Linked DNA regions of Homo sapiens: region 2 is linked to region 1. The links are contacts of gene promoters, found by promoter capture Hi-C in blood cells and fetal thymus (Javierre and others, 2016). All regions are on one chromosome and are shown on one strand. Each heading gives the region's core, a stretch centred on a gene start or on the middle of the fragment in contact. The rest is flanking DNA. Distances are from core to core; before and after follow the strand shown.

Region 1 (5,978 bases), core at 2,428-4,927:
GGCTTGCCTTGGCCTCCCAAAGTGCCGAGATTACAGGCATAAGCCACTGTGACTGGCCGATTTTCTTCTTTTTTAAGACTGAATAGTATTCAATTGAATGTATAAACCATATGTTTTTTAACCCATTCATCTTTCAACAGACGTATAAGTTGTTTCAAAAGATACCAGGTTTTGGCAAGGATACGGAGAAATTGGAATACTTATACACCATAGCAGGAATGTAAAACGGTGCAGCGACTATATAAAAAAAAAAAAGAGTATGGAAGTTCCTCAAATATAGAACTACCATATGATCCAGCAATTCTATTTCTGTGTATATATCCAAAACAATTGAAATCAGGCTCTCAAAAGAGATATCTGTACTTCCATGTTCATTGTTATATTTTTACAATTATATTGTGATGATCCCTGAGGTCTGAAGAGGATTTTTGGCTGCAAGTTTTTAGTTCAGCATCTTTACCCAGAAAGTTATTTCCACCCATAGCTAGGCCAAAAATCTGAGTCACTCAATACTACATTTTCTGGTTAAGTTCACCAACAATAATTGTTAGAACAATCCATCTTTCCTGAACTACAGAAACAATAAAAATAACAATAGCTCCAGCTTATTGATCACTTAACTGCCTTTAAAAAAATCATTTGAAACATTATAGCAATCCTTTGGAAATTATTTCTAAATTCCCATTTATTAAGATACTAAAGATTAGAAGTTAATTTCTCTAAGGTCTCATGCTATTGAGAGACAGAGCTGGAATTTGTACCCACGTCATTATGACTGCAAAGCTTACTCTCTTAATCACTACACAATAGCTTCAGACCAATGTTCAACATACCTAGAGTTCATCCTTTATAACCTCAACAACTTTTCCTATTTACTAACATGACTGAATTAAAAACCGCATTTTTTTACAGCTGTGCTCTTAGTTTAACATAAACTTACTTCATTTTATTTTTTGAGACAGGGTCCAGCTCTGTTGCCCAGGCTGGAGTGCAGAGGCGTAATCATGTCTCACTGCAGCCTTGACCTCGCCGGCTCAAGCAATCCTCCCACTTTGGCCCCCAGAGAAGTTGGGACTACAGGTGTGCACCACCATGACCAGCTATTTTTTATTTTATTTTCTGCAGAGATGTGGTTTCGCCAGGTTGCCCAAGCTGGTCTTAAAACTCCTGAGCCCAAGTGATCCACCTGCCTTGGCCTCCCAAAGGGCTGGAATTACAGGCATGTGCCACTGCAGCTGGCCCCATAAACTTATTTTAATAACAAAGATGCAAATATGGAATTCTATTTACATTAAAAATTACTCCTTAGTTCTAATAGGACAAATGTAGAATCAGGGAAAATGGCATTTTGATATCTTCTAAATTACTTGGCTGTTTTCTTATGCTCTTCTTTACAAAAAATTATTAAAGGAAACTCAAATATGCAAAAAAGTAGAGAAGAGAGTATAATATTAACTAATGTATGTGGAAATCAAAAGGTATCTGAGGCAGGTCTCAATCAATTTAGAAAGTTTATTTTGCCAAGGTTAAGAAAGAGCCCATGACAGCCTCAAGCTGTCCTGATGACATGTGCCCAAGGTGGTCGTGCACAGCTTCATTTTATACATTTTAGGGATACATGAGACATCAATCACCAGCTTGACTTCTTCCTTTGGCTTAGTGATGTTGGGGAGATTTTCCTTTCACATATGTATCGCCCAGCTTCAACAATTGTTAACTCATGGGTAGACTTGTTTAATCTATTCTCCTACCCATTTCGCTACACCTGCCACCAGTTTGATAAATCCCAGATACCATATAATTTCATTTGCAAATATTTATTACTATTCTTATTATTATTTTGAGACAGAGTCTAGCTCTGTTGTCCTGGTTGGGGTGAAAGTGGCACAATCTCAGCTCACTGCAACCTCCGCCTCCCGGGTTCAAGCAATTCTGCCTTAGCCTCCCGAGTAGCTGGGACTACAGGCGCATGCCATCATGCCTGGCTAATTTTTGTATTTTTAGCAGAGACGGGGTTTCACCATATTGGTCAGGCTGGTCTCAAACTCCTGACCACAGGTGATCCGCCCGCCTGGGCCTCCCGAAGTGCTGGGATTACAGGTATGAGCCACTGCATCTGGCCTGCAAATATTTTCATATGAATCATGAAATTATAAGAAATTCTTTAAAAAGCAAAACTTATTAAAACTAAAAATACAAATAGCAATTCCTCAGGATCATCAGATATTATTTAATGTGTGTGTGTGTGTGTGTTTGTGGCGTGTGCGTGTTCGTATATTCAAATTAGTGTTCAATTAAGGTCCTAGAAATGGGGCCACTCCTGGTGGCTTCACACCTGTAATCCCGCACTTTGGGAGGCCGAGGTGGGAGGATTGCTGGAGCCCAGGATTTAGACACTAGCCTGGGCAAGATGGCTAGGTGTTAGCCATCTTGCGGAGATGGTATATCTCCACAAAAAATGCAAAAAATGTGTCGGATGTGGTGGAGCATGCCTGTAGTTCCAGCTACCTGGGAGGTTAAGGTGGGAGGATCACTTGAGCCCAAGGTTGCAGTGAGCCATGATCACACCACTGCACTCCAGCCTGTGTCACAGTGAGACCACGTCTCAAAAAAAAAGAGGTACCACATTCTAGACTTCTAGACTACTTGTCTTTCCCTGAATATGCAGTTAGTTTGCCAGTTTGTCTTCATATCACGAAGTTACTTAGTTACCTTTTTCAGATTTTTCTTTCCCTTATAACTCAGTTATAGTTCAAGGAAGCAAAATTAGATTGTTTCCGTTGGACAATGAATCTTAAGCAAGTTTCTCTTGCAGATTTTACCACACTATGTAGTTATGTATCTACTGGTCATTTATTCTGTAGTTTCGATTCCTCGATGGTCTGCTTAAATCAATTTTGTGCCCCAGGGCCTTGATAACATGTTTAAATTAGTTATTAATTACAAAGACCTATTATGATACAATTCTTTCCCCAATTAAAAACAAAACTAGGCCGGGCGTGGTAGCTCACGCCTGTAATCCCAGCACTTCATCCTGGCCAACATGGTGAAATCCCGTCTCTACTAAAAATAAAAAAATTAACTGGGCGTGGTGGCGGGCGCCTGTAGTCCCAGCTACTCAGGAGGCAGAGCCAGGAGAATCGCTTGAACCTGGGAGGCGGAGGTTGCGGTGAGCCGAGATCGCGCTGCTGCACTCCAACCTAGCGACAGAGCGAGACTCCGTCTCAAAACAAACAAAAACTAGCAGGCTTTTGTGACTACAAACAAGCTGGTTGCATGCTGCACTGCCTTTGGGTAAGAGTGGAACTCCAACTAAGAAAGTACATCTGGTAAACATAAGGGATTCACCCAGACTTGTCCTAAATAAGACTCCGATTACCCGAACTGAATCAGGAGTCCTTTAGAGCGACTCTAGCTAAGAAGGCCTGTTAGGCCCTGCACTAAGAGTTTCAGGTGGGAAAATTGCGCCATCCAGTTATAGGCCGTACAGCGGGAACTCCATGAACAACCTGGGTAACCTAATCCCTGAATAAGACTCCTTCCAGGTACCAGTGGGCTGAGGGCGGCAGGGCGACGCGCTGACGTCACGTCACGTTCCTTTGCACGTCCCCGCCTCCCCGCCCCTCTCCGCACTGTGACGTTCCCAGAGAGGAACGAAGCGTAAACAGCGCAGGGCATTTCGGGAGCGGGATTGTTTCGCGCAGGAAGCAGGCTCCATTTTAGCGCCGCCCGCCGTCGCCATCTGTTTCCCTTCCCTCCCCCATACCTAGCCCGAGTCTGAGCCCTAACGAGAAGGCTGGGCCTAGGCCGCTGGATGCTGGAGTGAAAGGAAGGGAGAAAGGGAAAAAGCGGGAAGAGTCGAGAAGGCTGAGTGTTAAGAGGCCAAGTGCGACGCGCGTATCCGGGCAGACGGACTGACGGACGGGCCCGTGCTTCTGCCGCGGCTGCGGCGCCCGCGCGAGTCGCGTCTAAGCGGCGGCGGCGGTGGCAGCGGCGGAAACCGAAGGGGAGCCATGGCGGCTGACAGTCGGGAGGAGAAAGGTTAGTGCGGAGAAAGATGACGGGCCGAGGCGAGGCTGGGGCCCGGGAGTGGGGTGATGGAGCAGTGGTCGTCGTTGGGGGTGGGGGGTGGGGGTTGGGGAGGTTAGCTGGCCTCGCGAGGAGCCGGTGGCCCCCACCGAGACACTTAGACTCTGGCGGAGACCAGGCCTGCCCTTTCGTCCTCAGTCTCCATATGGCCTAGCACTTCATCTCAGTAGGGTTTTTCTTTGATGCGGATTTCACGCTTGACTTTCCGTTTAGCTGTCTTGGGCTGAGAGGGGCCCTTTCTGAGTTGCAAGCTCCTAGGTTTATTTCCTGGTAGGATCATGCGGATGTAACGCGTATTTTCAGGACAACCATTTCTGTTAGGCTAAAATTTGAAAACCCCTAATGCCGCGATCAACACTGGTGGTGTGGTAAGTGAGCAAGTTTAGGAAGTGGCACTGGCAGGTTATTAATCTTGAGAAATATCTGCAAATAACTTCTGGCTGTTCCTGTTAAATAGGCAAAGTGAATTACCCGTTTTGTTCCTCGAATACTTATTTTGGAAAAACATAGTACTTGGAAAAAGGAATACTTAGTTTGGAAAGATGACTGTGTGACTTAGGCTGGCAAAGAAATCCTGGGTGCTATTATGTTAGAAAAACCGTGTGTAGCTCCCAGAGGGTACAGTCAGAAACAAATGAATGCAAGTTACAGAGAGTTGGAGGGATAAATTTCAGTGAAATGTAGAGAGAACTGACGTTGCTGTAATGGAAAGATAGTAATACTAAGTTCCCAAGCCCTAGAGATATTAATGTAGGTCCTAGATCAGTGTCTCTCTGGAGAGTGGTCTAGATTAAATGCTGCTTTAAGATCTTTTTCAACCCTAAGATTAACATAATAGTCTTGGAAAGATTATAGTTAAAAATATGACACGGTCGCTGCTCTGTGTCTCACACATCTCTTCTGTGTGCCTAATTGATTTGGGGTTTTTTTGTCGGGGGTTGTTAAGTGGGCTCTAGAGTCAAGTTACATTAGGCGTGTAATCCTTTTTTCTTAATTTTTCTGGTTTCTGCATCAGGAGAGTCTTCATGCTTCAATGAACTGCCCTAGGTTAGGGACAAGCTGGGAAAGTGGAATGGGTGGGAATACTTTTAAGATACTGCCCTTATCCTAAAGTAGTTCTTTGATTAGGTTATAGCAGTTTAATGTTCCATCCTTAAACTAAATGCTAAAAAATCTCCCTGGGCCTTTTTTTTTTTTTTTTTTGAGAAATCCAGAAGTAATGGGAACATAGGATTGTATGGTGTTAGTGAGTAAAGGAAAATGCTTTTAATTAGTTAACTCAGTTATTAAAATACATGATCTTAATTAGTAAGTATTCAGCAAACATCTGATTGTCTTTCTAATTTATGAACTGTGGATATGGGAGTCTGTAGTGGTTGTGGTGGGCGAAATGAACCAAACACAAAAATGAGTAAAATTCAGTACTTCTCAAGAATTCGTTGTCTAAGATGAAAATATTTACAAGTCGTTAATAGAGTAGACGCAGTAATGCACATTGAAGAAGAAAAGTAGATGATTTTAAAAGTTTTGCTTTAGAAATGATTTAGTGATGATAATGCAGTCCAAATACATAAACTGTGTAGCTATTACTGGGAAGTAGTGATATCACCTGTTGTCTATACATAGGATACATTTCCCCACTTTTGAAAAGGTTCTTTGCCTCACATTTGCTTAGTTTTTTTTATTTAATTTTCATAACTTTATTTAAAAACTTGATGTAAGTGCTTTATCTTTATAGTTTAGAACAAAGATTGTTTCTGGACTACACGGAGAACTAGCACTTACCTACTGGAATTGTTTATTTCGTTTTGGGAGAGTTCTAGGTAACCTACAGGTTGTATCATTTACTTGATGATCATCATCACACACTTAGCTTTATAGTTAGAATC
Region 2 (5,978 bases), core at 2,626-5,125, 7.1 Mb before region 1:
GCTTTTTAAAAAGTGAGGAAGTAACCAGTTTCTCATTGTTATTAAATAAGCACCAGAGCTTATTATAAGACAGAGTCGCATAGCAGAAGTGGTTGCTGTGTTCTGATTATCCTTATTTGTATTGACATGTATTAGGTGTACATATTTTTGGACTACATGTGGTAATTCAGTGCATTCATATAATCAAATCAGGCTAATTGGGTTATCCATTACCTTAAATATTTATTGTTTTTTGAGAAAGGGTCTTGCTCTGTTGCCCAGGCTGGAGTGCAATCGCACAATCATGACTCACTGCAGCCTTGACCTCCCAGGTTTATGTGATCCTCCCACCTCAGCCTCCTGGGTAGCTGGGACTATAGGAATGTGCCACCATGCCCAGCTAATTTTTTGTGGAGTTGGGGTTTCCCCTTGTTGCCCAGGCTTAAATATTTGTGCTAGAAACATTTGAATTAATTCTCTTTTAGCTAGTTTGAAATGTATAATCAATTAATGTAAACCGTAGTCACCCTACTGGTCTATCAAACACCAGGGCTTATTTCTTCTAAGTGTATATTTGTATCCATTAATCAACTTTTCTTCATCCCCTCCCCTGCCCCATCCTCCCTACCCTTGTAGGCTTCTGGTGTCTTCCAGCCTACTCTATCTTCATGACATCCTGTTTTTAGCTCCCACATATGATTGAGAACATGTGATATTTGTCTTTCTGTGGTTGGCTTGTTTCGCTTAACATAATGACCTCCATCCTATCCATGTTGCTGTAAATTACAGGATTTCATTCTTTTTAATGGCTGAGTAATACTCCGTAGTGTACATATACCATATTTTCTTTATCCATTCATCCACTGATGGACACTAAGGTTGCTTCCATATTTCAGCTATTTTGAATAGTGCTGCAGTAAACATGGGAGTGCAGATACCCTTTGAGGTACTGATTTCCCCTTAGATATGTACTTTTAGTGGACTTGCTGGATCATATGGTAGCTCTATGTTTAGTCTTTTTGAGGACTCTCCATTCAGATTGCCACAGTGGCTGTATTAATTTATATTTCTACAAGTAGTATACAAGGGTTCCACTTTCTCTATATCCTCACCAGCATCTGTTATTCCCTGTCTTTTATGATATAAGCCATTCTAACTGGGGTGTGATGATACCTCATTGTGGTTTTGATTTCTGTTTGTCTGATGATTAGTGATGTTGAGTATTTTCTCACATACCTGTTGGCCATTAGTTTGTCTTTTGAGAAATTACTGTACAGGTCTTTGGACTATTTTTAAATCTTTTTTTTTGTTATTAAGTTGTCTGAGCTCTTTATATATTTTGGTTATTAATTCCTTGTCAGGTGGATAGTTTGCAAATAGTTTCTCTCATTCTGTGGGTTGTCTCTTCACTTGTTTGTTTCCCTGTGCTGTGCAGAAGCTTTTTAGCTTGATGTAATTCCGTCTGTTTTTGTTTCAGTTGTGCGTGCTTTTGAGATCTTACACAAAAAAATCTTTGCCAAGATCAGTGTCCTGGAGAGTTTCCCCAGTGTTTTCTTTCATTAGTTTTATAGTTTCAGGTCTTAGGTTTAAGTCTTTAATCCATTTTGATTTGATTTCTGTGTACGGTGAGAGAGAAGCATCTAGTTTCATGCTTCTGCATATGGTATCCTGTTTTTTTCTGCACCATTTATTGAAGAGATTGTCCTTTTTCTGTTGTATATTTTTAGCACCTTTCTTGAATATGAGTTAGCCGTAAATGCATACATTTATATGTGGATTCTCTGTTCTGCATAATTGGTCTACTTGTCTCTTTTTATGCCAGTACCATGCTGATTTGATTACAATAGCTTTGTAGTATATTTTGAAGTTAGGTAGTGTGAAGCCTCTCCAGTTATGTTTTTTTTTTTTTTTTTTGCTCAGGATTGCTTTGACTATTCAGGGTCTTTTGTGGCTCCATATAAATTTTAGGATTTCTTTTCTTTCTCTTCCTTCCTTCCTTTCTTTAAATGTTTGCTATAATTCAGCAGTGAAGCCATCAGATTGTGGGCTTTTCTTTGATGTGAAACTTTTTGTCATGGCTTCAGTCTCATTACTTGTTACTGGCTTATTGAGGTTTTTTTGTGGTTCAATCTCAGAAGGTTGGATGTGTCCAGGAATTTATCTATTCTAGGTTTTCCAATTTGTGGTTAAATAGTTGTTCGTAATAGTATCTATCTTTGTATTTCTGTGGTCTGAGTTCTTACGTCTTCTCTTTTGTTTCTGGTTTTTTTTTTTTTAGTCTATTACATTTTTTTTTGATTTTATCTTTTCAAAAACACCAGCTTTTGTTTTATTGGTCTTTTGTATTGTGTTTTTAGTCTCACTCTCATTTTTTTCTGCTCTGCTCTTTATTATTTCTTTCCTTTTACCAATTTTGAGTTTGTGAAGTCTGTCCCGGGGGTAATCCAGTCATTTTTATTTTTCTCCTGTGCACGTCTTCTTTTCTTTCTTTCAAAATAGCTGCTTTTAAGATTTTTTTTCTTTGTCTCTGGTTTTGATAATTAGATTATGACATTCCATTGTATAGTTTTCTTCATGTTGCTTGTGCTTAGGGTTTGTTGAGCTTTTTGAATCCATTGGTTTATAGTTTTTTTCATTAATTTCAGGAAAGTTTTGGCTATTACTATTTCAGATGTTTTTTCGGTCCTCCTCCTTCCCCTGCTTCCTACCTTAGGGATCTCCAATTGCATGTGTTAAAAGAAAAACTTAAGACAAATTAAACTTAACAGAGTTTAAATTAAACTTAACAGAGTTTAAATTAAACTTAACAGAGTTTAATTGAGCAAAGAACGATTTGCAAGGTGGGTAGCTCCAAAATGATAATAGGTTCAGACCAACCTTGGCTCTGCCATGTGGTCAGAGAGGATTTATGGACAGACAAAGGAAAGTGACAGAAAATGAGTAAGGTATGGAAACAGCTGGATTGGTTACAGCTCAGCATTTGCCTTATTTAAACACAGTTTGAACCGAGGACTGCCTGTGATTGGATGAAACTTGGTGATTGATTGGTACTAGAGTAGGTTACTGTAGGTAAACACATCCAGTTAGGTTACAGTTAACTATGTACAGCAAAGCCTTTTAGGACGATCTTAAAATATGTAGGAGGCAGCGTTAGGCTCAACTGAACACATGTATGTTAGGTTGCTTGAAGTTGTCTCACAGCTTACTCATGCTCTGTCGTTTTAAAAAAATTCCCTTTTCTTCCTATTTCATTTCGGATAGTTTCTGTTACTGTGCCTTCAAGTTGACTAACCTTTTTGTTAGCAATATCAAACTTGCCATTAGTTTCATCAGTGTATTTTTAAATCTCAGACATTGTAGTTTTTATGTCTAGAAGTTTGATCTGGGTCTTTAAACATATTTTTCATATTTAATACTTTTTTAATGTAATGGTATACAGTTATAATAACTTTTAATGCCCTGTATTAATTCTAACATCTGTGTCTGTTCTGGGTTGATTGATTGATTATTCTTCTCATTTTAGGTTGTGTTTTTCTGCCTCTTTGTTGCCTGGTTATTGTGGGTTGGATATCAGATGTGATTTTTCTTTTTATCATGTTTAGTGCTGGGTATTTTTGTATTCCTATAAATCTTCTTGAGCTTTATTTTGGGATGCAGTTAAGTTACTTGGAAACAGTTTAGACTTTCTGGGATTTACTTTTCTAATTTGTTAGGTAGATCTACAGAAGGGCTTATCCCAGGGCTATTCTCCACTGTTGAGGCAATATCCTTCTGAATACTCCACCCGGAGCCTGCGAATTATGAGTTTCCCCAGTCTGTTTGATGGGATCAGGCACTGTTCCTAGCCATGTGTGAGTAGTACTGTTCTCATTCTTTAGAAGGTTGTTTCCCTGGCTTTGGGTAGTTTTCTTACATCCATGTGCTGATGGGTATCCTACTAAATATTTCAGAGGTTTCTCTGTGCAGCTCTCTCCTATCTGATGCTCTGTCCTATGAATCTGTCTTGGTTTCTCTAGACTGTCTCAGCTCATCATTTCAATCATGATGTCTTCCTAGCTCACCCTTAGTTCTTCTAACCTGTCCTGGCCTCAAAACTCTCTAGGCAATAAATGAGCAATTTTAGGGCTCACTTACTTTGTTTCTTATCTCTCACAGATCACTCTGTGTTGTTGCCTGATGTTCAGTGAAACTGCTGTTTCATATATTCTGTCTTTTGTCATTATTTTTTCAGATGGGAGGGTAGGTCTGATCTCCGTTATTCTATCTTTGGCAGTAGTGGAAACGTCCCTGCAGAATTTTACTTATGGAGTTTGACAGCCTATTCTAAAGTTCATTTGTAAGAGAAAATTCACAATAGCTGAGTAAATTTTGAAGGAAGGACAACGAAGAGTGGATTGCCGTTCCACATATCAAAACATGATAAAGCTATAGTAATTCAAATAGTTTGCTGTTTGTGCAGGAATAGACGAATAGATAAATATGTGTGTGTGTATATACACAGACAAATATTTATACATATGAATTTATGGCAAAAGTGACATTTCAAATCAGGAAAGGGTAGTATTAAGATAATTGATTATCCATTCGGAAACCAAAAATTGACTCTTCAAACTGTATTCATTAGAGTATGGATTTAGCATCTTGTGACAGAAACCCAAAGTAATGGTGGTTCAAGAAAGGCAGAAGTTCATTTCTCATGGAAATAAATCTGAGTTGTGTAGCTAAACAGGAACTCAGGCTCTTCTTGTTTTTTGCCTTGTCACCCATAAGATATTTTCTTGTCTCTGTAGTCTAAAATGCCTCATATTCTGGTCTGTAGAAAGGCTAGTTAGGTGAAGGGAAGGCATATTTTTCCTCTTGAGGGTACAATGCAGAATTTTCATGTATCTCTTCTGTTCCCAACGTCCAGGTATGTTGGAAAATAGTCTTTATTCAGGACAGTTCTGAATAGCTCAGTGCCTAGCTAAATACCCTATCATTGTAGAAGAAGTGGAGAATAGAAATTTAGGGACAAGTAGCAATCTAACCTTTGCCATATATAGCAAATTTCAAATGGATTAAAGAAAAATATAAAAATGAAAAGCTGTAAGTACTAGAAGTATACATAGGAGAGTCTGTTTATGATCTATAGGTTACAAAAGTTTCCTAAACAAGAGGCAGAAAGCATAAGCTATACAGGAAAATATTGATGACTTTTTACCACATAGTAATTAAAAATGGCTATATGACAAAGTTAAGAGAAATCACAGACCAGAAAAGTAAATATAAAATATGCAAATAAAAAATTGATATTGGTGATATATAAATATAATACATGCGAATGAAAACATTGATATTCATTATATAAATAACTAATATTCATGATATATTTTTTACCAGTAAATTGGTTAAAAACAAATACTTCAGTAGAAAAATGGACAGAACATATGAACAGACAATCCACAGAGAAATCCAAGTAGTTCATTAATGTACAGTCCCTGTCTCATTATTTGTGAAATGCAAATTAAAATGACATCTTTTGTTTGTCTATAATACAAGTAACCATGTTACCCAAAGTGTGGGGAACATGGTTACTCTCATGCAGTGTTGGTGGAAGTATAAATTGGTACTGTCTATTTGGAGGTCAGTTTGGCAGTATCACAATTAATGTTGCAACATCTTCTGACTCAGTAGTTTCACTTCTAGGAATCTCGTAAAAAATAATCAACATGTGAACTAAGTGATGTCTGGACAAGGATGTTTACTGTATCATTGTAGCAACTAAAGATCATAAATTATGATCTTTCTGAGGGAATATTTAAAAAAATTAGTATACATCCATGCCATTAATGTAGCTATTAAGAAGAATGAAGTGGTTCTGTGTAGACAGACATAAAATCCTCAGAATATATCAAGTGAAAAAAAGTTGCAGAATGGCATCTGTAGAAAGAATCCATTAATGTAAGAAATCAAACCCGAAATGTGTGTGTGTGTCTGTGTTTCTCTCTTTTTGCAATTTT

The links. Contacts are between HindIII fragments. The CHiCAGO score rates a contact against its expected background, and 5 or more counts as called.
Region 2: a contact is called between a fragment that was not itself captured here and the fragment with the promoter of YTHDC1 in region 1, in 1 of 17 cell types (monocytes). The highest score is 6.0, in monocytes.

What each region holds. Positions count from the first base shown.
Region 1 is chr4:68,347,789-68,353,766 of GRCh38, reverse strand. YTHDC1 (YTH N6-methyladenosine RNA binding protein C1) reads left to right here and starts at 3,677. Exons shown (of 17, transcript NM_001031732.4): 1 at 3,677-4,041. The coding sequence starts at 4,014. RefSeq lists an enhancer at 3,729-4,308. The HindIII fragment of the contact is 7,711 bases long and covers 786-5,978 here.
Region 2 is chr4:75,494,397-75,500,374 of GRCh38, reverse strand. The region is part of intron 3 of RCHY1 (ring finger and CHY zinc finger domain containing 1); the gene reads left to right. Among named protein-coding and RNA genes, the nearest start is that of RCHY1, 17 kb to the left of the region's middle. The HindIII fragment of the contact is 4,911 bases long and covers 1,420-5,978 here.